2 separate regions of the Homo sapiens genome follow, and region 2 is linked to region 1. The links are contacts of gene promoters, found by promoter capture Hi-C in blood cells and fetal thymus (Javierre and others, 2016). All regions are on one chromosome and are shown on one strand. The core of a region is centred on a gene start or on the middle of the fragment in contact, and the rest is flanking DNA. Distances in the headings are between cores, read along the strand shown. Region 1 holds the start of MTMR7 (myotubularin related protein 7). Region 2 overlaps FGL1 (fibrinogen like 1).

The links. Contacts are between HindIII fragments. The CHiCAGO score rates a contact against its expected background, and 5 or more counts as called.
Region 2: a fragment that was not itself captured here is called in contact with the fragment with the promoter of MTMR7 in region 1 in 1 of 17 cell types (endothelial precursors); the score reaches 5.0 in endothelial precursors.

What each region holds. Positions count from the first base shown.
Region 1 is chr8:17,409,487-17,415,244 of GRCh38, reverse strand. It overlaps MTMR7 (myotubularin related protein 7), which reads left to right and starts at 1,894. Exons shown (of 14, transcript NM_004686.5): 1 at 1,894-1,976. The coding sequence starts at 1,953. The HindIII fragment of the contact is 2,680 bases long and covers 1-2,417 here.
Region 2 is chr8:17,884,488-17,890,615 of GRCh38, reverse strand. It overlaps FGL1 (fibrinogen like 1), which reads left to right. Exons shown (of 8, transcript NM_004467.4): 2 at 5,045-5,124. The coding sequence starts at 5,062. Among named protein-coding and RNA genes, the nearest start is that of FGL1, 8.0 kb to the left of the region's middle. The HindIII fragment of the contact is 1,999 bases long and covers 284-2,282 here.

The sequences.
Region 1 (5,758 bases), core at 645-3,144:
CTCCACATCTTTGTTATAGGGCAAGGCCAACAGAGACATTGATACATTGCATCATTGAGTTCATAAAAATCCTGAAGAGAGGCCGCTTTTACTTTTTGCCAGGCAGAACCCCAAATGCAGCTCTGACCCTATCATACTGAGTGACTCCAGATGAGGCTGAGTTTATTCAGAGATGTGTTCCCTCCTCCACTTATAATATGGTCCATTTGGGTTTAATTACGCTGAATAGGATCGTATTGAGTTTGTAATAATTAGCAATACCATCCCTAAGGAAACAGGGTTTGGTCTCACTGCCAAATCAGAAGTTTGCCTTGCCTCAAGAGAAATATAAGTATTCTGGAAAAAGTCTTGCAAGTGTTTTTGATAAGAATTCAAATCTCCTCAGGCCATTGAATATCACAGGATTTTGGGAAAATGCCCAGTTAAAATCAAGGTTGTATTTTAAAATTCTGTTAGCAAAAGTATTTGCAACTGAATTATCTATGTGATAAAAGTTGCATAAGAAGAATTCTCTAGAAGACGTTTGGTAACTTGCAATCAAGTAGTTTAGGTCTTGCTTATGGTTAGGTGTCCCTAGAGATCTTTAAAGGCATTACCAACTCCCTCTTTAAAAAAATCACAAACACAAAGGTAGAGACAGTGCATTATTTTGACTCTCAAATTCCCTTTCCACTTCAACATAGTATAGGCTAGGCTCAATTCAGCGTTAAAGTTCAGTGGCTTTATGTGACAACAACAACGAAAGTGTTCTTTTCACTTCCAAAAGAATCAGCTGTGGCTTTCCAGAGTAGTTCTTCTAATAATGTAAACTAATGGTAAACTTGTTCTAATTGCCTCCCAAAGCAGTAGGAGGATGAAATGGTAGAAGACCTGTGAAAGAGGGATCTGGAATTTTAAAAATAAATTCAACACCGTATTAATTATTTGCTGGAAGGCTGCAATGTGTCCAGGTATTAGATAAAAAAACGGTAAGCAGAGTCTCTACGGAAAAAAAAAAAAAATCACAATCCAGCCTGAAAGATGAGTAAGAGCGAGGAAAAAATTGAACAGAACTATGTAGAATTCTATAAAATTTCACTTATGGTGGAGCATTGTACTCTTAGGGCTGCAAGAAAAAAAAAATGGAGGGCGTTCTTCCTCTCTTTGGCTTTTCCCAAGAGGCCTAACGCTAACAATGGCACCAACTACTGTTAATACCATCAATAGGGAAATGGTACCGCATAATGGATGCTTTGTATCTCTATCTCTCAGTTCAGTTGGAGCTAAATAAAGAGGGCAAATGAGCACCCAACACTGTGCCAGGGGAAAAGTGTCGCCTGCAACAGTGAAGTCGCAGGTGGATGTGAGATGCCTGACTTAGGAGCGCGCTTACCAAGGCGCTAACACTGCTGCTATTATTTCCACCCGCACCCCGAGCGCTATGCCGGCCGCGCCTGGGATGAAACACACACATTGAGCCTACAAGACCGTCCTGGGTCTAGAGTGTCTGTGGCAGCCTTCTTTTCTGCCCCACCCTGAAATCCTAGCTATCCCAGGACGCCCTAGAAGGAAGCCCAGGGACGGTGTGGAGCAGCCTGTACTCCCCATCTCTCTTCCAGGAGGCCACACCCAAAACAAGGCCCTCTTTGTGTCTCGGAGAACAGTGGCCGTATAGTGCTCCGCCGGCTGCCCCTGTTAAGAGAGAGCGAGCAGCCCTCGCCCCGGCAACCCCAGGCAGAGGCGCGTCGCGGCGGCGGCGCAGGTGGGCGCAGGCGCGGAGGTGGGCTCTCTAGGGCCGCGCGGGAGCCCCGGGTCCGCACGCCGCGCGCGGAACACCTGGGGGCGGAGCCAAGACCGCGTCCCGCCCACTCCCGGGCGCGAAGCCCCCTCCCCGCGCCCCTCCCATCGCGCCGCAGAGGCGCGCAGGTGCGTGAGGCCGCGCCCGCCCGGGACCCTGCAGACGTGGGCCAGCCATGGAGCACATCCGTACGCCCAAGGTTGGTGACACCAGCGCGGGCGGAGGAGGGACGGGAGGAGATGGGGGAGGAGGAGGAGGGATGCTGAGCGCGCGGGAGGCCGACTGCTTTGAGGGGCACCGGCGGAGCCTGGACCGCGGGCGAGGGAGGAGCAGGCATTGCCTGAGCATCCCGGGGTGCCTGCGAGCCCGGTCGTTCTCTTGCTGCCTCCCAGGCCTAGCCTTAGCTGCTGCTGGGTCTGACCTCTTGGTTTTGGGGGAGCGCAGTGGACACAAGGGTGAACGGGAGGGAACCTCAGTTGTCTGCTAGTAACTGGGTGTAGATCAACCCTTCTTTCTCCTGGCACGAGGCTTTCTCTTTTAGCTGTTGGCCGCTCAGAGTAGTTGAAAGGGAAATAAGCCTTTCGGTGACAGGTGCAAGGAAAACGAGCTAAATGCAGAGGGACTCCTGCGCTTGGAAGCTTGTTAAATCTAGGGTGTCAGGCCCACCCGGCTCGGCCTTCCCAGTCAGCATCCTCATCCTGAGCGTAGCAGCTGCAAGGGGCCTTACACAGAACGGATAATCAATATTCATTGTAGGTTGAATGATGGTGTGTTCTTGCCTTTTCCAGTCCGTTTTGTTCGTTAGAGAAAAGGATGCAGCTTACGGATTCGTCACGCACTGTTGTGTTTTAACAACACCAGCTTTTGCTAATTAACAAAAGCAAATGGTCCCTGATCACTCCAGTAAATTAACATTGGAAACGTTGATCGCTGTACCAAATCTTCCTCCTCAGTTGTACTGATAATCTAATTTAGAATGAAAATGATGATCGACGTTACTGCATGATAAAAACCCTAAACGAGTGAAAGAATATGCTTAAAAACCCTATTGGCTGTCTGTTGTTACTACCACCACAGCTCCTTGCGTTTTTGCAGGATGAACTTCCATTCAAAATGTAGGCCCCTGACAGGTCAAAGCTAGGTCAGAGTGGCCATAGCTCAGGTGGTTCCAGGGATCCCACACATTTAAGAGGGGTGGGGGCAATTGCTTTATGGCCAGCAAGAATTGATTCCTAAATTTTGGAATAGTTCCTGAGTACCTTTTTGTAAAAGCAGATTAAAATGATCTCATGTCATTGGAAGAAGAAATCTTTTAGTTTGCTGGAGAATGTCAGTTCCGACAGTAAATTTAAATTGTATTGATTTTGCACTAGGGAATTAAGTTGTCGCTTCACAATCATGAAATTGTAAACTTAGAAGACAATGCTACAAACCACAGAATAGGTGGCTCAAAGCTTTCAGAGTTTAAGTGGTACTAAATAATTTATTCCAGAAGGGTGAATTTAACTCATGGACTCTGCCCTTGCCAAGGGCATTCTTCCTCCTTCCATGATGAAGGGAGCCGTTTGTAAAAGTGATAGCTGTTGTGGATATTGATAGCAAGAATGATACAGTGACATGGCAGTGGATGCCACTTTGTTAGAGAATATGAATTTGGGGGAGTCAAGGCCTTTTCTGTTCTATATACAAAGCCACCTGGTACAAAGTCACGTGTGAACCTGAGTTGCAAGCAGTGTTCTTACTCTTAAAATTGGTGTTTATGGATACCCTCTAAGCAGTGCAGTACTTGAAGTCAGAAATCCTTATTTATCTGGAAATGGAAACAAATTGGGGGAAAATGGAAAATTGTCTGAAGTGTTACTGAATTGGGTGAGTCATTAACATTTGGGATAAAGCTGGTGAAAAAAATAAGAAATTACAGAGGTTGGATGGATCGGATTCATTTATTCATTTATTTTATTCTACAAGCATTTAGAACCTTTCATGTGCCAGGCTCTGTGTTAAGTGCTGGAAGCGTCCAGGAACTCACAATCTCTAAGGGGAGGCAGTTGTAAATATGTCAGTGTATGATAGAGACATGTGCAAGGTGCAGTGGGTAGAGAGGGAGACTGAAGAGAGGATCAGCTCTGCCCTCAAGGTCAAGGGAAGCCTTCTTAGAAGAGCCGTCTTAACATGGAAGGACTTAAGGAGGACTAGGAGCATTTTCAACAGTGGTCATGTACTTGTATAAATATATATTGTAATAAATAATTACAACCCTAAAGAAACTGAAAACAATAACAATGGTCAAAGATAAATGATTCCTTGAGGTTAAATAACATCCTCCTTTTGTTTTACATTTTTAAGGGCAAAATTAATTTTCACAGTCTAAATGAAAAAGAGAACAACATTACTTACAGAGCTTGCAGAGTTAAATATATAATTGTTACTGGTCATATTCATCTTTATTATTTGCTTCCATTATACTTGGTGAAACTATAGGTAAATTTCCTTCGATTTCATGGTTTCATGTCTTGGGTTTGCAAGGAGTGTATACAAAGTTTGTTTTTCTGGCCCACTGTGGGTTTATAGCAATATTTACTGTGTGGGTAGTAGAGTTTTAAGAGGAAAAGAATTGTATGCATGTATAATGTACAGTTGCTTTTCTGTTACAATGGAAGTCATTCACTCGCTGTAGACTGTGTAATATCCATGACAGCCTCTGTGTTCTGCTTTAGTCTCTGGAGTGCAGTTTAAGGAGACAGATGCACGTGCATAATCTGGAATGCTTTGCACATATTTCTTTCTAGGGGTGCATGTATGTTTAACTGAAGCCTTTAACAGAGCATATGCTAAGCAGAGTGCTTCCCTTCCAGAATGGTTCCTCTAGAGGGGAAAAAAAAGTTCCAAGGACAGGCTGGTTTGCAGTTGGGTTAAAGGGGGGACACCAAGTATTACCTGTACTCATCCCAGTGAACTTCTAGGTTTCTACTTCACTGTCTGGGTTTCCTTACCACTCTGAAAACTTGCTGGAAGCTTAGGCATAATTTGGGTTCAAGTGCTGCTTAATTAAATGAAAAGACTTCAGGGCTCCTGGAAGTAGCTTGAAGTGTTTGTAGGATTTAGTTTGGTACTAGATTGAGGCAAATGTGTCCAGGATCCTGGTAAGTGATTTCTACTTTATATGCTTTGGTCTTTCTGGAAGGCATTTTTCCCACATGTGTAAATTTGAGTTATGAAATAGAATACGTGATAACCTCCAAAACAGACCTTGCAAATGTCTTCTCTTCCTTGGTACACCTACCCCCTAGTCTGACCCTGACTGGTCTCCTGATTTATTTTTTTTTGCTCTTTTCTAATCCCTTTCTCACAGAGGGGCCTGGATGATGCTTTTATGTCTCAAATTGATCATGCTACTTCCCTGCTAAGTTTCCTAGGTGGCTTCCCTTTGTACCCAGGATATAAAGTGAGAATCCTCAGAACTGCTCGTAAGGCCCTTTGTAGACTGAGCCCTTCCTACTTCTCCAGCCTCGTTTTGTGACAATCATCTTCTTATCCACAACCCTCTGATCACAACTTGTCTTCACAGAGTTCTCCAGTGGGACCAGTTCTTTTCTGCCTCGGGACTTTTGCACTGCTGTTCCATCTGGGGGACGTTAGTTCTCACTCTTCACCTGGCTAAATACCTCATCTTTCTAGTTTCAAATTGTGATTTCTCAGGCTGTTGTCCAACTCCCCCATCTAAATCAGATCTGCCTGTTGTATTTTATCATAACACCTTGTGTTTTCCCCTTAGGTTCCTCATTACAATTGTTAAATTTATTTGAGTTATGTTCATTTAATGTCAAGCTCCCCTGCTTGATGGAAGTCCTGTAATGGTAGGGATTATATTTTGTTCACCCTTTGTATCTATAGCACCTAACACAGTGCTTGGGACCAACTAAGCATGCAGTAAATAAATTCAGAATTGAATTAGTGAAGAATGCATAATTAATTCATTAC
Region 2 (6,128 bases), core at 34-2,533, 480 kb before region 1:
AAGACAGTAGGGGACAGCTGTTATTTTATATGTGGTAGTCAGGGAAGGTATCTCTGGGAAGGGAATACCTGAGCAAAGACCTGAAGGATGTCATGGAGCAAACCACAGAGATTTTCAGAAGAGCATTCCAGGTAGAGAGAACAGCAAGTGCAATCGCCCTGAGAAGTCTGTGTATTTCAGGGTTTTCCAAAAATGCCAAAGAGGCCAATGTAGCCAGAACAGGCAAAAATGATGGGAAAAGAGATGTGTTGAGGAGGTGGATGCTCACAGATTATGTAAAGCTTTGTCGGTGAATGACCAAATATCCCGGTTTGCCCAGGAAAGGCTCAGTATAGAATGTTGTCTCATTGTAATTCTAAAAAATTGTTTGGAATCTTCCATTGGTAGCTTGGGCCAGACATTAGCAATAGAGGTGGTGAGAAATGATTGGATGTTGTATAAATTTTGAACGTAGAGTCTTTCCTTAGGAAAGTTACTTTGCTTCACTATTTGAGCTTCCTTTAGTAAAAAGTAAACATAATGTGTCTTCTAAAGACATCGTGAGATTTCATGTGTTGATGATGTATTAGCAATTTTGTAAACATATTTTAAATGGCACACATTAATGTATTAACATGGGAGGCAGCATTGATATAAAAACAGGTTCTTGCCAATTTGTTCTCTCTCTGATCAAGTAAGCTGCAAACAGTATATTTTGAACCTATTTTTTTGGTATTCATTGTAGTATAAATGGTTATAATGATTTTCAAGTGTGTTCTTCCTATCTAAACAATATGCATTAATTTGAAACAATGAAATTGCCATTTTTCTAAGTCAGAAATGTTCAAACATCTGCCATTTCTTATAGTTCAACATAATACAGTAAGAAAGGATTAACCAGGCAATAAAGAAAGAGGTTCAGGAGATTTGGGAGATATTCCCAGGGGATATCCCCAGAGGCTGAATGGTCCTGGAGAAATCATAAGCATCCTTGTGCTTGTTTTCTTATTTTCACTGTGAGGCTAATGAAATAAAATAAAATGGCCAATTAAAATTTGATAGTGTTTTGATAGTGTTGTTGTTGTTTGAGGTGGAGTGTCGCTCTGTCACCCAGGCTTAACTACAGTGAGACAATCTCAGCTCACTGCAACCTCCGCCTCCCAGGTTCAAGTGATTCTCATGCTTCAGCCTCCCGAGTAGCTGGGATTACAGGTGTGCACCACCACACCTGGCTAATTTTTGTATTTTTAGTAGCGATGGAGTTTTATCATGTTGGCCAGGCTGGTCTTGAACTCCTGGCCTCTGGCGATCCTCCCACTTCGTCCTCCCAAAGTGCTGAGATTACAGGCGTAAGCCACCACGCCCAGCCAAAGTTCGGCAGAGTGTTTAGTGATGCCCAAACACAAACACAATATGGTTTCAGATGAGTATTCCTTATTTTTCCAATCCACGTTAGACTTGGGGAAATAGCCCTTGTCCCCTTGATGATGGGCCCTTTAATGTAAGTAATATTGCAGCCTTGCAGAGGTACATTCTACTTGAATGGCTAGCTCATTTTTATATAATGCCCCAGGCCACGCAGGCTGCTTGGCATCTTTGTGGAACTACGCTTACTGTCCCATCAAGCCTGTTTAGCAATTATTGTGTGTCATTATTAAAATATTATTCTCTTATTGTGAAGAAAAGATACTAAAGCATGCTGTAGGTCAGTCATTTTCTAGTGACAGGGATTAGAGGACTAGAATCCATTCAATTTTTAAAACTTTACCTACGAATAGTTAGAAAATATATGCTTGAAATAATCTCATTCTAGTTTATTGTTATTGTTTATTTTCTAAGCCTTCTTTACAAATATATTTTCCCACTGTAATTCAGTTTAAATGGATGGTTTTTACTTCTTAATAAAATTATTGACTATTGATTTATATCTGATACAATCCTTTGTAGTATTCAATGCTGATGTTGAAAAAATTCAGCCACAATGAATAAGGAGTGTTCCCAAGGACCCTCAGACAAAAAAAGAAAAACAAAAGAAAACATGAAACTACCCCCAGGATCGGAATGAAAATGTATTTGCTCCTAACATCAGATGTCTTCGGTTTAGAATACTTATTTCAACTTGAAATTTTCTTAATTTGTAGACATAATCTTGACATCTGGGAATAAGAGATTTAGGACACTACTGCATTGCAAATGATGACTCTTTAGTGCAGTCAATGTTTTTATCTTAAAGAAAATGATTTTACCTTTCATGACAATAATAAATGTGACCTAGAAAAGTGTTCCTTAAATAATTCCAAGCTTATTATATTAATTAGCGAATATTAATTGATAGCAAACCTAATCATCTTTTCTTCTAATTTGGTCACGACTTCTGTTCCTTTGCAATCCTATTCTCACCCCATTTTATCTTTTATAAAAATACACAGAGGGTGTCTCTTTTTCACATTGGTAAATGTTTTAAATATCAGAAAGTTAATTTTCTCTATTTTTAACATAAGCAAATATTTTAATATAATCAATTATATTTAATACATTACATATAAAAACATCTACTATTTCTATTACTGGGCCTAAGATTACTATTTCTATCACTGGGCCTAAGACTACTATTTCTATCACTGGGCCTAAGATAGGTACATACTCAATATACAATTGAATTTTAAAGAAAAAATATTTACTAAGATAAAATAAAGAGTGAAATGCCAGAGTTCTTATAAATTGTTGCTACAAATTATATCATATGTTTAAAAGGATAACTTTAATGGAAAAATGGGTCTAGAGATACTTTTTTTTTTTTTTGAGATGGAGTCTCGCACTGTCACCTGGGCTGGAGTGCAGTGGCGTGATCTCGGCTCACTGCAACCTCCACCTCCCAGGTTCAAGCAATTCTCCTGCCTCAGCCTCCCAATTTGCTGGGATTACAGGCACCCACCACCACACCTAGCTAATTTTTTGTATTTTTATAGAGACAGGGTTTCACTATGTTGGCCATGCTGGCCTCAGTGATCCGCCCGCCTCGGCCTCTCGAAGTGCTGGGATTACAGGTGTGAGCCAACACGCCCGGCCCATCTTGGTTATTTTGTTCACAGTGTTGGGTGAAAGGGTTAAGTCATGACTAATTGCTATCATATGAATTTCTGCCCAGTGTTGTAATACAGAAATTTGGTGTTTCTCTTTAGACCATTTGATGTGGACAGAGAATGAAATGTAAAATATGCCTCTCTTCAGAAAGAAGACTTACGTTGAAAGAAATAAGCAGAATAGTGTGCCTATACCTTTTATACCTCTCCCAGGTGCATGAAGGAGGCTTCCCAACTGGTGGGATTCTTTGGAGAGCGATCAGTCAAGGAAAAGCCTCCTTTGATGGAGAATCCTCCAATGTCAGTCTCTGAAGATCTTTTCGGTGAAGCTCTGCTGTTCCTCCAGCGAGGAATCCTATGTTCTTTGGCCTGGAAAGTGGTAGGAAGAGTGTAGAGCCGGTTGCCTGGCTGCAAGAGAAGAAGCCTGGGAAAGCCTCACCCTTTTTGAACAGGGTCTCTCTCCTCCCCTCCAGCACTTCTGCTGTCATGTCACCTGGAGCATCTCTGGGCAATCTTAATAGAAAGTAAATCTTCCATATTCTGAAAGGGTACGAGAAGCAGCATTCACCTGGCTGCACAGGATTTAGATGAGGATCTGACTGTTAGCCCATTTGCCTCTACCTTCACTTCCAAGCTAGCAGTGCCTCCAATCCAGAATCCCCTAGGGTGCTACACTGTGACTTCTCTCGCTTCTCATGGTGCTCCTCTCTACTGCTGCTTTGCCAATTCCCCTACTTCTCTTCTCTCCTCTCCTCTCCTCTCCTCTCCTCTCTTCTCCTCTCATTTCGTTTCTTTCTAGACAGGGACTCACTCTGTCACCCAGGCTGGAGTGCATTGGCACGATCTCGGCTCACTGCAACCTCCATCTCCCGGGTTCAAGCAATTCTCCTGCCTCAGCCTCCCGAGTGGCTGGGAGTACAGGCGCCCACCACCACGCCTGGCTAATTTTTGTATTTTTAGTAGAGACAGGGTTTCGCCATGTTGACCAGGCTGGTCTCGAGCTCCTGACCTCGAGTGATCTGCCCACCTCGACCTCCCAAAGTGCTGGGATTACAGGCGTGAGCCACCGCACCAGGCCCCCCACATGCCTTTTTATCATCTACCAACTTGCTGACATTGCACACTAGCTGTTCTTTCCCTTTCTCTTTGACTTTGTCAGTTCGCATCTTTTAAACTTTTTCTTCACTCATTTTCTAGTGGGCTTTGTGAGAAGGAAAAAATTAAATTCATGTGTTCAATCAAACCAAAAGTCCCCAACTCCTTCTTAACTCTTACCTTCAAAACTATACTTAGCCCATTGTTTTCCAGTAAAAGAGGAAAGTATGTCAGTATAAACAGACTGTAGTTTAAAGCAAGGAAATTACATTTTTCCCTCTGAGAACGATTTTGCCTCCTGAGGAATAATTCCGTAGAAGCAACAACAGTTATTGGGGTCACCACAAGAATTAAATGCTAGGGATACCAAAATTAGCAAGGTGTGACCTTTGCTTTCAAAAATCTTACTCTAGGCAGTGGCTCACGCCTGTAATCCCAGCACTTTGGGAGGCCAAGGCGGGAGGATCACTCAAGCCCAGGAGTTTGAGACCAGCCTCACAACATAGGGAGAAAAAGACACAAGCTCCATAAGCAGAGACCAGCGTGCAGATTTTGACTACGCCACTTCCTTGATGTGTAACATTAAATAACTGATTAAAATGCTCCTGTGCCTTTCCACAGCATAACACAAACAGCACATTAGGATAGCGAAAAGAACCAGAGTCCTTCCTCTGTTTTTGTGATGAAACAGATTCAATTCTAGTTAACACTCAGTGTCATTCTGTGTGGTGAGAGGCTGGGAAAGTCTGGGAGAATTTCCTCGGCGACTCTAAGATTAGGGATGGCCTGCGGCTGCATCCGACTTCCTGGAGCTACTGAAGTCTGAACTCTGGTCTCATGAAAAATTCAAGGTTGATACATTTATAAAATTCTTTTTGTTCTTGCAGTTTTTTCAAGGGGGAACATGGCAAAGGTGTTCAGTTTCATCCTTGTTACCACCGCTCTGACAATGGGCAGGGAAATTTCGGTAAGCTTCTTGGGAAAACTATTGTCATATTTATAATGCCTGCTTTTATCTGAATTTTCTTTCATTTTGCATTAAACCTATAGTGACTTGTCATTGAAAAAACTTAACTATGTGGGAAAAGCAAAGAGGCTGGTAGAAATACTGGACACATAGTAAAGCAGCACTTTAAAGCGCTTTACATTTTTGCAGGGGAGGCCGAGATGGGTGGATCACAAGGTCAGGAGTTCGCAACCAGCCTGGCCAATATGGTGAAACCCCATCTTTACTAAAAAAAATACAAAAAATTAGCCGGGCGTGATGGCACGCATCTGTAGTCCTAGCTACTCGTGAGGCTGAGGCAGGAGAATCCCTTGAACCCAGGAGGCGGAGATTGCAGTGAACTGAGATCATGCCACTTCACTCCAGCCTGGGCGACAGAGTGAGACTCCATCTCAAAAAAAAAAAAAGTGCTTTACATTTTTTTAAATAAAAAGTATTCATAATAAATAAGTAATTTTTAAAAATTCACTGGAGTTATTTGGTTGGAATATTAGAAATTTGAAACTGTCCATAGTAATTAAAATTAACCTTGAGCTTTTCAATATTGAAAAGTGTAAAACTAACCAGATTATTTGAAAGTAATTACATCGAACTTGTGTTGTCCTTCATTTGTGAATAAAAAAGACAAAACATTCATTCAAAGTTCTTGGAGAAAGAAAACTCCTAGGTTTTAAATAAGCTTACTAAATATGCGTATGCAATCTCATAAAGATTGGGCATACTTGACCTGTGATGTCTTCAATTATTTTAAAATTGCATAGTGCACTATGTTTAACAATATCACAACCGATCCCCCACTGTTGTAAAACAACTCAGGACCCAGACACCATAAAATGTTCTTGCTGTTCATTTTTTAGCCTATGTGACTCAAGGTGCTAAGCAAATAACTATCTCAGAAGGGATAAATCTGAGTGTTAGGGATAGAGTAACAAGAACAAATAAGAAGTAATCCTAGAGAGGCCTGG